Linked DNA regions of Homo sapiens: all the other regions are linked to region 2. The links are contacts of gene promoters, found by promoter capture Hi-C in blood cells and fetal thymus (Javierre and others, 2016). All regions are on one chromosome and are shown on one strand. Each heading gives the region's core, a stretch centred on a gene start or on the middle of the fragment in contact. The rest is flanking DNA. Distances are from core to core; before and after follow the strand shown.

The links. The method cuts DNA at HindIII sites, captures the fragments that hold promoters and counts their contacts. A CHiCAGO score of 5 or more calls a contact.
Region 1: a contact is called between a fragment that was not itself captured here and the fragment with the promoter of KIF3C in region 2, in 2 of 17 cell types (M2 macrophages and neutrophils). The highest score is 6.4, in M2 macrophages.
Region 3: a fragment that was not itself captured here is called in contact with the fragment with the promoter of KIF3C in region 2 in 1 of 17 cell types (M2 macrophages); the score reaches 5.2 in M2 macrophages.
Region 4: a contact is called between a fragment that was not itself captured here and the fragment with the promoter of KIF3C in region 2, in 6 of 17 cell types (erythroblasts, M2 macrophages, megakaryocytes and 3 more). The highest score is 6.5, in erythroblasts.

The regions. Positions count from the first base shown.
Region 1 is chr2:26,174,153-26,178,004 of GRCh38, reverse strand. GAREM2 (GRB2 associated regulator of MAPK1 subtype 2) reads right to left here. Exons shown (of 6, transcript NM_001168241.2): 2 at 1,521-1,661. Among named protein-coding and RNA genes, the nearest start is that of GAREM2, 3.0 kb to the right of the region's middle. RefSeq lists an enhancer at 1,917-2,455. The HindIII fragment of the contact is 3,235 bases long and covers 1-3,007 here.
Region 2 is chr2:25,980,291-25,984,078 of GRCh38, reverse strand. KIF3C (kinesin family member 3C) reads left to right here and starts at 1,582. Exons shown (of 8, transcript NM_002254.8): 1 at 1,582-3,706. The coding sequence starts at 2,162. RefSeq lists silencers at 1,334-1,503, 1,644-1,803 and enhancers at 1,793-2,302, 2,303-2,811, 3,321-3,788. The HindIII fragment of the contact is 7,922 bases long and covers 1-3,788 here.
Region 3 is chr2:26,192,425-26,196,443 of GRCh38, reverse strand. HADHA (hydroxyacyl-CoA dehydrogenase trifunctional multienzyme complex subunit alpha) reads left to right here. Exons shown (of 20, transcript NM_000182.5): 15 at 1,212-1,352; 16 at 1,806-1,874; 17 at 2,672-2,867. It also overlaps a transcript of GAREM2 not described here. Among named protein-coding and RNA genes, the nearest start is that of GAREM2, 21 kb to the right of the region's middle. The HindIII fragment of the contact is 754 bases long and covers 1,961-2,714 here.
Region 4 is chr2:26,157,939-26,161,825 of GRCh38, reverse strand. No RefSeq gene overlaps it. Among named protein-coding and RNA genes, the nearest start is that of GAREM2, 13 kb to the left of the region's middle. The HindIII fragment of the contact is 3,371 bases long and covers 22-3,392 here.

The DNA of each region.
Region 1 (3,852 bases), core at 141-2,640, 190 kb before region 2:
GAAGCAATGGGACCTTCCCAGCCTTGGTGAGGGGGTTGTCAGGAGCAGCTGGGCACAGCAGTTAAAAACACAGAACTGGGCTGGGTTTGGTGGCTGACACCTGTAATTCCAGCACTTTGGGAGGCCAAGGCGGCCGGATCACTTGAGGTCAGGAGTTTGAGACCAGCCTGGCCAACATGGTGAAACCCTGTCTCTACTAAAAATACAAAAATTAGCAGAGAGTGGTGGCAGGCACCTGTAATCCCAGCTACTTGGTAGGCCGAGGCAGGAGAATCCCTTGAACCTCGGAGGCAGTGAGCCAAGATGGCGCCTCTCCTCTCCAGCCTGAGCAACAGAAAACACACACACACACACAGAACTGGGCCTGGCCCAGTGACTCACACCTATAATCCCAGCACTCTGGGAGACTGAGGCAGGAGGCTTCATTGAGACCAGGAGTTTGAGACCATCCTGGGCAACATAAGGAGACCATCTCTAAAAACACAAAAAATGAAATAAAAAACATGGCACTGGGCAAGCCACTGAAACTCCTGGAGCCTCAGTTTCCTGGTGAGTTAAATGGAGTTGACAAGACTTTCTCATCAGGTTGCCATGAGGATGAAATGGCAAAAATGTTCGGCCCAGCATATGGCATGCAGCACATGCTTAACACATGGCAGATGTGGGATCCGGGGCTCACACGGGGACGTCTCTGGGATGGGGCCACCAGACTCCCATCCCTCCCACACAGGGGACAGCAACCACACGCTCCTGGTGTAGTGCAGCAGACACCAGCCCTCAGTTGAGATACCTGGATCTGGCCAGGCTCTTCCTTTCCTAGATGTGTGACACGGGGCAAGTCACCTCCTCCCCCAAGCCTTCCGTTTCATCATCTGTAAAAGGAAGGGGCTGTACTCTGTTTTGGTAACAGAATCCTTTCTTCAAACAAAATCTTATTATATGTCAACGTCACGTATAAAACTAATAAAGGTAGTCCATTAGCATAATCTTTAGAAGTCTAAAATTTTTAATATTCACTTATAAAGTCAACCAATGGAAACAATAGGTTTAACGCAAAAATTGGGAAAAACAGGATCAGCGCGGAGAGGTGCAGCCATGTAACCAGCTTGGGCATTCGCTGGTTTCTGCGGTATTTGGTTGCGCGGTACAGAAAAGGTCCTGGCAGGACATGTTCTCTTGGAGGGTCTGCACAAAGATGGCTAAGCGTGGCAGCCGAAGGTATACCCTGAAGGCCTCTGATTAGGGTTAAGCTCTGATGTGTAGTAATTTAAGAGTGTGGGTATTTTTTAATCATTAGTTTCAAATCTACTTTAAAATAAAATGTGAATCAAAAAACCTGTGAGCCACCTCTCCAGAAACCCAGAGTGCCACAGAACAGAATGAAAACTGCTGGGCTCTGACTCCAACCCTAACCCTAATCACCGCCTCGCTAGTCCCAGCGTTCCCCCTACCCCTGGCCCCAGTCCCTCCTGCCTACACCCCCCTACAGGCTTTATGACATCTGTCCTGGCTGGACACACCTGGGTACTGCAGGGGGATGTCGATCTTGGGCCCGATGACATAGTGGCCCTCCTCCAGGGTATGAGCTGTCACCGTTGTCCACTGCCGGCAGGAGTGGATGAGCAGGATGTCTCGCTCACTGACGCCCTCGGCGTACTCCCCTGGGAAGGGGGAGGAGGACAGAGGATGAGGGGAAGGAAGACAGGACATTAGAAGGGGCAGAAAGAACAGATAGTGACGTCCTCACCAAGACCGCCCCCCTGAGGGACAGCTCCACACAATCCCTGTCCAGGTCAGCAAAGCTCAAGGGACAGGCGGGCTGCCAGCTGGGGCCTGGGGCTGTGGGGCTGGCTGTGAGCCTCTCAGGGCTGTGACTCCCGACGGGGCCCCTCGTTCATCAGTGGCTGGAATGCCTGCTGTCCCTGGCTCTGAGCTGGAGCAGGGGGAGCTCCCCATGGATGAGCCCAGACCAGCCCCTGCCCTCCAGGAGCCCTTAGGCCCCTGGGGAGGTGGGCAGAGATGTACCAGAGACTAGGCAAGTTTGAGGCACTGACTGGAGTATGTCTGGGGACCCGGAGGGCAGCAGTAGGCTCCAGCTGGGGGTGTGGTGGCGAAGGGAGACTTTATTGAGCAGGAGATGCTGGAGCTGTGCTTCCCAGTCAGGGCCTAGGCCCTGCAAGAAGGGCCCTACTGGGGCAGTGGAGAGGGCCCGGACGGGACTGTCCCTTATAAGGTCCCAGCTGTGAGAGCTCCCCCAGAGCCACGGGTCGCTCAGGTCAGGAGAATGACAGGGCTTAGAGCAGCTGATTACTGCCTCTCCCAAGGGCAGCCCTTCCTTTCCACCCACTGCCTTGTTCAGGGGACCTCGAAGGAGAGGGGGGGAGTCCCCAGAAACCCCCAACCCCATCTCAGAGAAGCCACCCACTGCCTTGTCAAGGGGACCTCGAAGGAGAGGGGGGAGTCCCCAGAAACCCCCAACCCCATCTCAGAGAAGCAGCTCCTTGACACCCCCTCCCCACGCCCCCTCATCCTCCCAGTTACAGGGGTGACGGCTGAGGGTTGGAGGGGTTGAGAGAGCAGGTTTAGAAGGCAGGAGTGGGAGGCCCAGCCCTGGGGCCTGGGGGAAGCTGCTCTGGGGCAGAGGTGTTGGGAGTTGGGAGGGGTCTGGGCCTGGAGGCGCCAACCCCAGCAACGGTTTCCAGGGGAGCAGGAGGGGCAGCCCAGCTTCCAGGAGGCAGAAGGGGCTGTGTCCGGGCTGCAGCTGGTGGGGAGGGTGGGGGTAGGGAGTACCTCCTTCCTTTCTCCTTCAGGCACAACTTACAAAATTTCTGCCAATCAAATGGGAAATGGTTTACTCTGATGGCTGGGGGCTCCATAAAATGTGTACATGTGGGGTAGGCGTGTGTGTGTATGTGTGTGTGTGTGTGTGGCAGGGTGGCGGGCGGTTCAAGACGCACAGGAAGGGCCTGGCCCCCACTATGTGTGTGTTGGGGGTGTTGTCTAAGCTTTCCCCTGTACCTCCTCACCTCCGGGGGCCCAAGAAGCTCTCCTCCAACTCTGCTCCCTCCTCTGAGAGCTGTCCTGGGTCCTAGCCCCATCTTCACAGCCACATGGGCACACAGCAGTAATCATGGCTCATGACCACCAACAGCTGAACCACAATAGCCCACAGTGACAGATGCTTGTCACCCAAACAACATAACTCAGTCTCCGGCCAAGGGGCCCCTCCCAAATGCACAGGCACACAGGGACCTACCCTTCAAGCCATACAATTCTGACCAGACATTCACACCCTGATGGTGACCCAGCCATAGCCACACACTGTCACACACAACAGACAGCTGGGCCATCACACCAGTTGTTCATTCACTCACCCATTCATTCAATCCATAATCTTTATTGGGCAAGGATGCCTGGTCTCAAGGAGCCCACAGCCAGGTCTAAAGACAATAAACTGACTGACCATTATAATGGGGTGCACAGTAGGAGACAAGCCAGAGTTGGCATGAGGTGGCCGGGGAGCCCAAAGGAGGCCCTACGCAGACCGAGGAGCTCAGAAAAGCTGCCCAGAAAGGGGAGATGCCAAAAAGGATGTGTGGGAAGTGGCCAGAAGACCCCAGGGCAGCGACCTCCATTCACAGGCAGACACAGTACCACACTCTGACCACTCGGCCGCGAGCCAGAGAACTAGACGCTGGCCTGCCCGACGGCGGGGCGCCGATGCTCCCCCATGAGCCTGCTCCCGGGACAGCTGACGCCCACTGTGCCCACTCCTGGCCGCCACGGAGGAGGGGCTGCCGGGCCCCACGGGGAGACGAGGAGCCTGCGGCCGCGGGCCCCATTAGCATTCAT
Region 2 (3,788 bases), core at 333-2,832:
CTTGGAAATGTTTTGTGGAAAGACTCTTCTGGTGCCTCTGTGAAGAAGGGTCTCCAGGTTTCAGATAACAGCACCTCTCAATCTGGTTCTCATATGGAGAGTAAAGACAGACAGCTTGGGCTCAGTCCACAGACTCAACTGCCCTCTGCAGAGTGGACCATGGATAGGACTCTGGCTTGGTCCTTGGCCTTGTGGAATTACACTTTATTTGTATCCTACAGGAAAAAAAAAAAAGATTAAGACTCCCATAGAGGAACACCAAGCACAGACATGGTCTATCCAGGATACTCAAGGAAGCAGGAGCTGTCAGGCAATCCAAGCCAGGGCAGGACTTCTCATGGTACAGTACTTCATGATTCATTATTTCATTTGAGCCTCCCAACCATTCCATGAAGTAGTTGTTAATTATTTCTTTCCCGCCTCGAATTTTTAAAAAAATAAATGAGGAAACTAAGGCTGGAGCAAGGGGAGTGACTGCTCAAAGCCACTCCATTGGATGGCCATCAGAACTGGAACTTCAATCCAGGTTTTGTCTTAGGTAAATTCTGTGCCTCTTTCACTATAGAAAAAAAAAAATTGCTAAGGGAAGGCTTCGTGGAGGAGGAGGTGCTTGAACTGCCCAAGTGGCAGGGCACTAAGTGCCGAAGGGTGACCAGGCCTCTGGGCAAAAGCACAAAGATGCTGCACAGCAAAGCCAGTTAAAGAAACAAAACACGGTTCCGGGAATGTGCACTGCTTGAGGACAGGAAGGACCCAGATCCTAGAATGGGGCCTGGGGCTCAGCAGGCGCTGGATAACTGAAGAAATGGCTGTCTGGAACACAGATTTTTCTATAGAGGAGTAGTGGCGGTGAGGCTGCGAAGGCGGAAGATGGAGAGGCTTTCACACAAGGAAGGCGGTGGAGGAGGAGCGAGGGGGCTCCCGGGTGCTTGTGCGGACATAAGGTGCGAGAGAATCAGCTGGAAGGTGGGCTCCAGCAGAGAGAAGAGGAAGGCCAGAAGTAGACCGGGACAGGGGGAGGAAAGGACAGAGTCAAGGAACATTTAGGAGTTCGGTTCCCGGAGGCCTGGCGACACCCTGACGGGGAGGGGTGACGCGCACCCATTTGCAGGCAGAAAGGCAGGAGCAGGGGGGTGTCCGAGGATGGTGGCTCGGAGGGACCAGGCATAGGTGGTGCAAGCTCAGCAGTCACTCAAGGGGTGGCATGCGGATGAGGGAGGCGCCTCCCGGACTGGGGGACCGGGAAAGGCATTAGCAACCTGCCAGAACCCGGTTAACAAAGGCAGGACTACAATTCCCGGCATGCTCGGGCTCGGTGGGGTGACGGCGGGCGGTGGCTGCGCTGCACCCGACTGGTGGGCGCAGGACCTGGGTCGGCACCGGAGCCTGTCATCCCGGAGCGGTCGGCGGGGGTGCAGAGACGGCGATGCGCCCCTGTCCCCCGCACCCGGGCCGCTCCGGGCTCGCGCCTCCCGCCCCGCGGCCCCGCCCCCTGCCCCACCCCAGTCGGGAGGCTTAGCTGGGGCCGCAGCGCGGCGGCAACATCACTCTCGCTGCCGCTGCTCCGCCCCATCCCCTTCTGTTTTTCTCTCTCATTCTCCAGTGGCGGCGGCGGGGAAGGCGGAGGCAGAGGCAGCAGCAGCCGCGCTGGCTGCAATGAATGATCCCCCAGCTTGGGGGGAGGACTCCAGGTGAGCCTCTGCCCTCGGGAGGCCCGGGACCCCCGGCCGCCCACGACCGGCAGCCCACGCTATGGATCCCTAGAGGAAGGAGGAGAAGACAGCTCGCCGCCCACCCCCATCCCATTTTCCTCTTCCTTTATCTCATTGTTGCCGAAGCTGTTTACGGCAGCGCTCCCTCTGCTCCTGCATGGGGCGGGCTCCGGGCACGGCTGCTCGGCAGGCGCTGCTCCCGCGGCGACTGGGGGATTCTGCCTAATTCACCTCCCAGCCGGTGCAGAGAGGACCGGAGAGCGGTGGAGGCCCGGACTGCAGCAGCGTTGGGGCCACCTCCCAGCGTCCCCACCCTAGGAGGCTGCATGCGGATTGAAGAGCTGCGCCTGGGGGCTGGGCCGGCCCCGCTGATCCCGACCTAGCGAGCAGGATAGCAGGACCGCCCAGGCTGCGGAGGGGCTCGGGGGCAGGAAGGTCAGAGCAGCAAGATGGCCAGTAAGACCAAGGCCAGCGAGGCCCTCAAGGTGGTGGCCCGGTGCCGCCCCCTCAGCAGGAAGGAGGAGGCTGCTGGTCACGAGCAGATCCTGACCATGGACGTGAAACTGGGCCAGGTGACCCTGCGGAACCCCCGCGCCGCCCCGGGGGAGCTGCCCAAGACCTTCACCTTTGACGCCGTGTATGATGCCAGCTCCAAGCAGGCCGACCTGTATGACGAAACCGTGAGGCCCCTGATAGACTCCGTGCTCCAGGGTTTCAATGGCACGGTGTTTGCCTATGGCCAGACGGGCACTGGCAAGACCTATACCATGCAGGGGACCTGGGTGGAGCCCGAGCTGCGCGGGGTCATCCCGAATGCCTTTGAGCACATCTTCACCCACATCTCCCGCTCCCAGAACCAACAGTACCTGGTCCGGGCCTCCTATTTGGAGATCTACCAGGAAGAGATTCGAGACCTGCTCTCCAAGGAGCCGGGCAAGAGGCTAGAGCTGAAAGAGAACCCCGAGACTGGCGTCTACATCAAGGACCTCTCCTCCTTCGTCACCAAGAATGTCAAGGAGATTGAGCATGTGATGAACCTGGGGAACCAGACCCGGGCTGTGGGCAGCACCCACATGAATGAGGTCAGCTCCCGCTCCCATGCCATCTTCATCATCACTGTGGAGTGCAGCGAACGTGGCTCTGATGGCCAGGACCACATCCGAGTGGGCAAGCTCAACCTCGTGGACCTGGCTGGCAGCGAGAGGCAGAACAAGGCAGGCCCCAACACAGCGGGAGGGGCAGCCACACCATCCTCGGGTGGCGGTGGTGGCGGTGGAGGCAGTGGTGGTGGTGCTGGTGGAGAGAGGCCTAAGGAAGCCTCCAAAATCAACCTCTCATTATCTGCCCTGGGCAACGTGATTGCTGCCCTGGCGGGCAACAGGAGCACCCACATTCCCTACCGGGACTCCAAGCTGACCCGGCTGCTCCAGGACTCCCTGGGGGGGAATGCCAAGACCATCATGGTAGCCACACTGGGGCCAGCTTCTCACAGCTACGATGAGAGCCTCTCCACCTTGCGCTTTGCCAACCGAGCCAAGAACATCAAGAACAAGCCCCGGGTGAACGAGGACCCCAAGGACACACTGCTGCGGGAATTCCAAGAGGAGATTGCCCGCCTGAAGGCCCAGCTGGAGAAGAGGGGGATGCTGGGGAAGCGGCCCCGGAGGAAGAGCAGCCGCAGGAAGAAGGCCGTGTCCGCCCCGCCTGGGTACCCTGAGGGCCCAGTGATTGAGGCCTGGGTGGCAGAAGAGGAGGATGACAACAACAACAACCACCGCCCGCCCCAGCCCATCCTGGAGTCAGCCTTGGAGAAGAACATGGAGAATTACCTGCAGGAACAGAAGGAGCGGCTGGAGGAGGAGAAGGCAGCCATCCAGGATGACCGCAGCCTGGTGAGCGAGGAGAAGCAGAAGCTGCTGGAGGAGAAGGAGAAGATGCTGGAGGACCTGCGGCGGGAACAGCAGGCCACAGAGCTGCTTGCGGCCAAGTACAAGGTAAGGGCCCCAGAGGAGCTGGGCACTCGAGATGTCCCCGCAGGGGATCCCGGCAAGGAGGCTCTTCTTTGAGAGTCTGTGA
Region 3 (4,019 bases), core at 1,088-3,587, 210 kb before region 2:
TGAACACTTCAAGATCTGTGCATTTTATTATATAGAAATTCTACATCAATAAAGGCTAATTCCTTTTGCTCAGGAGTACTGAGTCTGAATCAGGTCCTAAGTATTTCAGATGTAAGTAAAAGAACACTTTAGGGGTTAGAAACAACTTTTGGATTGATAAGTTTACATAACATTTACTTGATCTGTGTATTACATAATGGCATTGGAGATAGACAGACCTGTGATGGAATCCCACCCCGTCATATGCTGACTGACTCTGTACTACTAACCTCTTGATACCTTTTTTCCTCATCTAGATAATTAGGCTGACCAGTTCATAGGGTTGTAATGGATTAAATGTAAGGAATAAGTGGTAAATGTATTGAAGAGCAGGTAGATAATGAGCAGCCAAAAATTACAGATATCACTTGTTGTACCTTATAGCTAAAGTGAGAGGGAGAAAGCAAAACTATAAATTAATGAATTAGACTTCTTTCACCACAGTTCTGTTGGGAAGACTATGTAACTGTTAGCTCAATGAGGGGTTTCTCTGAAACCTTAGCACGCATCAGAATCACCAGGAGGGATTATTAAAACAAATCTGGGCCCCACCCATGGAGTTTCTGATTCAGTAGGGCTGGGCTAGGCCTGAGAATGTGCAGGCCTAACGCTCCCAGGTGATGACAGTGCTTGTTGGGTCCGGGTACTACACTTGGAGAACTGCTGGTTTAATGAGTCTTAAGTGCATCTGACTGTTGAGGAGTGTTAGTTAAACCTAGTATCCTGGTGGTGAGACCCATCTGTGTAAAATGCAAATACTTCTCTGACAGCCCAACACATTAATTCTTCTGCCTGCCCCACCCCCGCCCAAAAAAACTGGATCCTCTTATCTAAACCATCAGTATCATTAATATAAGTGGAACCTTCATCCGTCGTTCCCCAATAAATCTAGTTTGGCCTCGAGCTGTGGTTTTGGCACTGATTGTTGGGAGGATCAGATGTCTGTAGTGAAAAACCTTAGAAGCAAATGGAAGAGGAGGATTCCAATGTGCTCTCCCTAAACATACTAAACTTTTATCAAAGACCCATGGAACCAAACCACTCAGCTATGTCAAGCAGTATTCCTATATCACAGCCACCTTTCTTTCTAGTGTTTTCCTAGCAGAGAAGGAATGCTCTCAGGTTCCTCACCCGCATTCTCCGATCTGTTGGCTTTTGGTTCCCCTTGCCAGGTGATTGGCATGCACTACTTCTCTCCCGTGGACAAGATGCAGCTGCTGGAGATTATCACGACCGAGAAAACTTCCAAAGACACCAGTGCTTCAGCTGTAGCAGTTGGTCTCAAGCAGGGGAAGGTCATCATTGTGGTTAAGGTAAGGGGCTGTATAACAGAGCTGCAGAGTTTTTGAAAAGTTCTAATAAGACTCCTTTTACCTCCAGGCTTGTTTATAAATATTCTGGGGCAAATGACCAGACTTTGATATGATTTTCCCCTGGGTTGTCTCCAGGATGGACGGTGGTATTGACTGTCCCACTGAGTCAAGGTGGGAGTGGGGAGTATCTAGGATGTGGCAGGGTTCTCCCAGCCATCCCAGACCTTGAAGGTGACCATGAAACTATCTGCTGTACTGTTTGATTCAAGCCAGGCTACCCCTAGTACGGCTTCCCCTGCAATTTCATTTTTAAGGATTCTGATTGAGATTTTAAGTCACCTTAAGTTTTACAGTGACTTTCAAATGACTTTGAAGTGACCCTGGGAAAGGTAGAGTGTTTCAGACTCAGTCCCAGCAGCAGGGCCAGGGAGCTCATGTTCTCTTCCTTGGCAGGATGGACCTGGCTTCTATACTACCAGGTGTCTTGCGCCCATGATGTCTGAAGTCATCCGAATCCTCCAGGTTGGTATTGCTCTCCAGAGTGTTTGCGGCATCTTCCACTCCTTCAGTCACTCTAAAACTCATGATGTCAAGATAAGGACCAAGCTTCCTTCTGATACACCAACTCCTGCTCTTGTCTAGGAAGGTCCCTGGTGCCCTCTCTCTGCACAGCAGTCGGAAGTTGGGCTTATACTGCACTGAAAGGGGCAGAGCTTTCCCTCTGCCCCACAGCCTCCTCACTGTTCCAGCAAGCTAAAGGCACCCCACCCCCCAGCATGTCTTCTATGCTGTTTCTGCACCTCTCTGAGGCAGGGACCATCCAGAACAGGGCCCGCTTGGTTCAACTGGTGCTGCATCTGTTTCCACAGCACACAGACCTCTCCAGTAGCCATCGAGGTCATTCTGGCAGGAAAGGAGAGGGATCCTCCTCGCTGGGCACTTACCCAGACTTGGGGATCACAGGGCTCTGAGTGCTCCTCTTTGATGATGTTTCTTCTGTTGGTCATGACACACTCAGCCGTCTGTCATGCAATCTCCTTATTATTGAGATTCAGAAATGCAAACAAGAAGAAAATGAAGAATTTAGTCATCTCTAAACGTCCTTAAAGTGCTGTAGATTAGAGAAGGCTCAGACTTTCCACTTGTGGCCCCAAACTTCTTTGTGCTTCCCTGAATGAAATAGCACCAGTCCTGGGCCTGGTCAGGTGACACTCAGAAGTGGGTTTTACACAAGGCAGTGTTTGGAGCCAGTACAGGGAGCCCTTTGGGGGGATTTGGGCTGCCCTTCCCCTGAGGTCCCTGCATCGCTTCCTGTTCAGGAAGGAGTTGACCCGAAGAAGCTGGATTCCCTGACCACAAGCTTTGGCTTTCCTGTGGGTGCCGCCACACTGGTGGATGAAGTTGGTGTGGATGTAGCGAAACATGTGGCGGAAGATCTGGGCAAAGTCTTTGGGGAGCGGTTTGGAGGTGGAAACCCAGAACTGCTGACACAGATGGTGTCCAAGGGCTTCCTAGGTGAGTAGCCTCAAGGAAACATAACTAGCACCATTAGTTACAAAGTTCTAAGCAGTTCCTGAGACCAAAGAGTTACAGAAGCCCTCGTGGAAGAAAGTTTTCTAAACACAGAGCCCTTATCACTGGCGATTTCAAAAATGATTTTATGAGTCAGGTGCGGTAGCAACCACTTATGGTCTTAGCTGCTTAGGAGGCTGAGGTGGGAGGATCGCTTGAGCCCAGAAGTGTGAGGCCAGCCTGGGCAACATGGCGAGGCCCCTTCTCAAAAAAAAAAAAAAAAAAAGATGTCATGTGAACCTTCTAAGGGCTAGGACTATAGATTATGGACAAAAGGCAGAGTTCTACCCTTCTGGGGCTCTAGCATCACCTGGTCCAAGTTATGCCAGATGGACAAGCATTTTTATCCCCCAGAGATGAAATCTGCAATAGTGCAGAAGCAAGCTCTGCATCCGGGCTTTACCATGCTGTCTGGCCACCTGTGAGGAGAATGTATAAGCTCACCATACACAGTATACAGTTGAGGCCCACAGAGAAGTGACTTTCTGTCTTGGCAAAACAGCAAAATCAGCATTACAACCTGGGTGTTCTAGGACCCGGTGCTGCATATGGGGATGTTAAAACTCACCCAGGTGGCCTTTCTCATCCATGTACACAGATGCCCAAGCTCCGGGTCACAAGATCTTCTTTCCTTCTCTGCCCACTCTTCTGACAAAGACTAATTTGCTAGGGTTAGCTAGACATACAAATTCAGGAATTCAGAAGAGGCCAGAGCTTTATAATAGACCAACAGAGACAAGAATTCTCAGGTCAGGGTCTTTTTTGTTTGTTTTTTGTTTTTTTTTGAGACAGAGTCTCACACTGTTGCCCAGGCTGGAGTGCAGTGGCATAATCTCGTCTCCACCTCCCGGGTTCAAGCGATCCTCCTGCTTCGCCCAGCTAATTTTTGTATTTTTAGTAGAGATGGGGTTTCACCATGTTGGCCAGGCTGGTCTCAAACTCCTGACCTCAAATGATCCTCCGCCTCGGCCTCCCAAAGTGCTGGGATTACAGGCGTGAGCCACCACGCCTGGCCAGGCCAGGGTTCTGAGAACAAATAGTAACACTCCCTCCCTGAGAACAAATAGTAACACTCCCTTTTCTTGCCTGTTTTAG
Region 4 (3,887 bases), core at 458-2,957, 180 kb before region 2:
AGACATTTTTAAACTGAAGCTTTATTATCCTTTTCATCTCTTCCTATTTATTTATTTATTTTATTTTTTTGAGACAGAGTCTTACTCTGTCGCCCCAGCTGGAGCGATCTTGGCTCACTGCAACCTTTGCCTCCCAGGTTCAAGCAATTCTCATGCCTTAGCCCCCAGGTAGCTGGGATTACAGGCGTGCACCACCACGCCCAGCTAATGTTTGTATTTAGTAGAGATGGGGTTTCACCATGTTGGCCAGACAGGTCTCGAACTCCTGACCTCAAGTGATCCACCCGCCTTGGCCTCCCAAAGTGCTGGGATTACAGGCATGTGCCACTGCACCCAGCCCATCTCTTGCTTTTTAAATGGTGTTCTTTACTTTCAAAACATGGCAAGTTTCAGAATCCTTTAAAAATTACTTTATTCGGGTTGGGCATGGTGGCTCACGCCTGTAATCCCAGCACTTTGGGAGGCTGAGGTGGTCTGACCAACATGGCGAAACCCCATCTCTACTAAAAATGCAAAATTAGCCAGACATGGTGGTGGGTGCCTGTAATCCCAGCTACTCGGGAGGCTGAGGCAGGAGAATCGCTTGAACCCAGGAAGCAGAGGTTACAGTGGGCCGAGATCATGCCACTGCACTCCAGCCTGGGCAACAGAGCGAGACTCTGTCTCAAAAAAAAAAAAATTATTCAAACTGTTTCCCAAAAGAGAGGTTTTGTGTCAGTGGTCTTTCACACCATTTCAGAATCACACTTGCCTGAACATCTCAGATGGACTTGGTGTCATCTGGGCTTAAGTGACTGCAAATGATGGAGTAAAACTGTAGAAATAGGCCGGGCGAGGTGGCTCACACCTGTAATCCCAGCACTTTGGGAGGCCGAGGCAGGCGGATCCCAAGGTCAGGAGATCGAGACCATCCTGGCTAACACAGTGAAACCCCGTCTCTACTAAAAATACAAAAAATTAGCTGGGCGTGGTGGCGGGCGCCTATAGTTCCAGCTACTTGGGAGGCTGAGGTAGGAGAATGGTGTGAACCCGGGAGGCGGAGCTTGCAATGAGCCGAGATCGCGCCACTGCACTCCAGCCTGGGCAACAGAGCGAGACTGTCTCACAAAAAAAAAAAAAACAAAAAAAACAAAAAAATAAAACCGGTTGAAATAATCCAACATCTTTTCTGTGAGCCAAGTCAATAATTAGCTGGGGATCCAACAGCTTTGCCTTTGTCGCCTGAAACAGATTGTCCAACAATTCCCCTGAAATTCCAATCTGTGCAATAAGACAAATACATCAATGGAGTAGAATAGAGACCTCGGAAATAGATCCACACAAATATAGTCAACTGATCTCTGACAAAGGAGGAGAGGCAATTCAATGGAAAAAGCACAGTCTTTTTCAACAAATGGTTCCAGAACAATTGGACATACATATAACAAAAAAACTAATCTAGACACAGACCTTACATCCTTCACAAGAATTATTTCAAAATGGATCATAGACCTAAATGTAAAATATAAAATAATAGCACTCCTAGAGAATAACACAAGAGAAAATCTAGGTGACCTTGGGTTGGGTGACAACTTACTTTAAGATAAACACCAAAAGCACTCCTCTGCCAATCTGAGCAATAGATAGACCTGGATAATATGCATGGCTCCAAAAGCGTGGTGTAGCTTCCTTCTCCAGATTTAAGACCTGATGTCTTGAAGATGGCAGCAAATCCTAGGAGTTGACACACTGGCATTCCACTGGAATCAGAACAGGAAAAGGAGCGAGATCCCCTAGTTCCTGGGGAAATAGAGTTGTTCCCAGCACAAAACCATAGCATAATTGGTACTTTTTTTTTTTTTGAGACAGTCTCACTGGCTTTGTCACCTAGGCTGGAGTGCAGTGGCGCGATCTCAGCTCACTGCAGCCTTCGCCTCCTGGGTTCAAGCGATTCTCCTGCCTCAGCCTCCCGAGTGGCTGGGATTACAGTCATGCACCACCACGCCTGGCTCACTTTCTTTAAAATTATTTTTAGTAGAGATGGGGTTTCACCATGTTGGCCAGGCTGGTCTTGAACCCCTGGCCTCAGGTGATCCGCCCACCAAGGAGTTTCCAGAAGTTGTGGGAAAGCCCCCACCCAGTCACCTACAGAGTGACTGAACAACTGATGGGAACGCCTTCATGGTCAATTGGATTATCTTTCATGTTATGGTCCTGACCTCACTAGTAAACCCAGTGTAAACTCAAAACTCACTGTGAAATCACTATTACATGACATGAGAATCTCTACTTTTTAATCAAATTACAGATTTCAATTTATTTGTATTGTCAGTGGAATCTTTTCTTCTTTTTCTTTTTTTTATTTTTTATTTTTATTTTTATTTTTATTTTTTTTGAGTCAAAGTCTTGCTCTGTCCCCCAGGCTGGAGTGCAGTGGCACAATCTCGGCTCACTGCAACCTTCACCTCCCAAGTTCAAGCGATTCTCCTGCCTCAGCCTCCCAAGTAGCTGGGATTACAGACTCGTGCCACCACGCCCGGCTAATTTTTGTATTTTTAGTAGAGACAGGGTTTCACCATGTTGGCCAGACTTGTTTCGAACTGCTGACTTCAAGTGATCCACCCACTTTGGCCTCCCCAAGAGTTGGGATTATAGGCAGGAGTCACTGCACCCGGCCAGTCAGTGGAATCTTATTAAGTCAAATTGTTACAGTAGGTAGCTAGTCAGGTATGAGCAGCGCCGGAGAGTGCTCCCCACCAACACATAGACCAGGCGTGTTGGGAGACCTGTCAGGTGATGGTCAGGTGGTTGTTAACTGTTTCTCTTTTTTTTTTTTTTTTTTTGAGACAGGGTCTTGCTCTGTCACCCAGGCTGGAGGGCAGTGGCATGATCTCGGCTCACTGCAACCTCTGCCTCCTGGGTTCAAGCGACTCTCCTGCCTCAGTCTCCCAAGTAGCTGGGACTACAGGCCCGCGCCACCAAGCCTGACTAATTTTTGCATTTTTAGTAGAGATGGTGGGGGGAGGTGTCACTATGTTGGCCAGGCTGGTCTTGAACTCCTGGCCTCAGGTGATCCGCCCTTCTCGGCCTCCCAAAGTGCTGGGATTACAGGCATGAGCCACTGTGCCCGGCCACCTGTTTCTCTAAAGTAATAATTCGTCACAGCTGGTGCCAGGGAAGGACAGTTTCCTAATAGATAGAAAATACCTGAAACTGATCAGCAGCTTCCCAGTAAGATCTCAGGAATGGGGAGAAGTTATAATGCAAGATCCCGGAAGTATGCCAATATATAAAGCCCCAAGTCCAGAGGTCAAGCTGCACACTGGTTTCTCAGGTCATCCCACTTCCCTCTTCCAAGTTGTATTTTCCTTCTTTTTTTTCCCTTTCCTTCCTTTCCTTACTGTTCTAAAGCTTTTTAATAAACTTCCACTCCTGCTCTGAAACATGCCTCTGTCTCTTCTGCCCTATGCCCCTCGGTTGAATTCTTTCTTCCAAGGAGGCAAGAATTAAGGTTGCCGCAGATCCGTACAGATTCACCGTGGGTAACTCCAGGTAACTCAGATATCTTCCATCAGTAACGAAACTGTTTAATTTACTAATGAACCATTGATTAAATTATGTAACACTATTTTTTAAAATCGAGGTAACATTCACATAAATTTACATTCACAACAAATTTAAACTTCATCATTTAAGAATTTAAAATTTAGGCTAAGCACAGTGGCTCATGCCTGTAATTTTAACACTTTGAGACAGGAGGCTGAGACAGGAAGATTGCTTGAGGCCAGGAGTTTGAGACCAGGCTTGGCAATATAGCAAGACCTTGTCTCTACAAAAAATAGAAAAATTAGCCAGGTGTGGTGGTACATACCTGTAGTCCCAGCTACTAGGGAGGCTGAGGCAGGAGG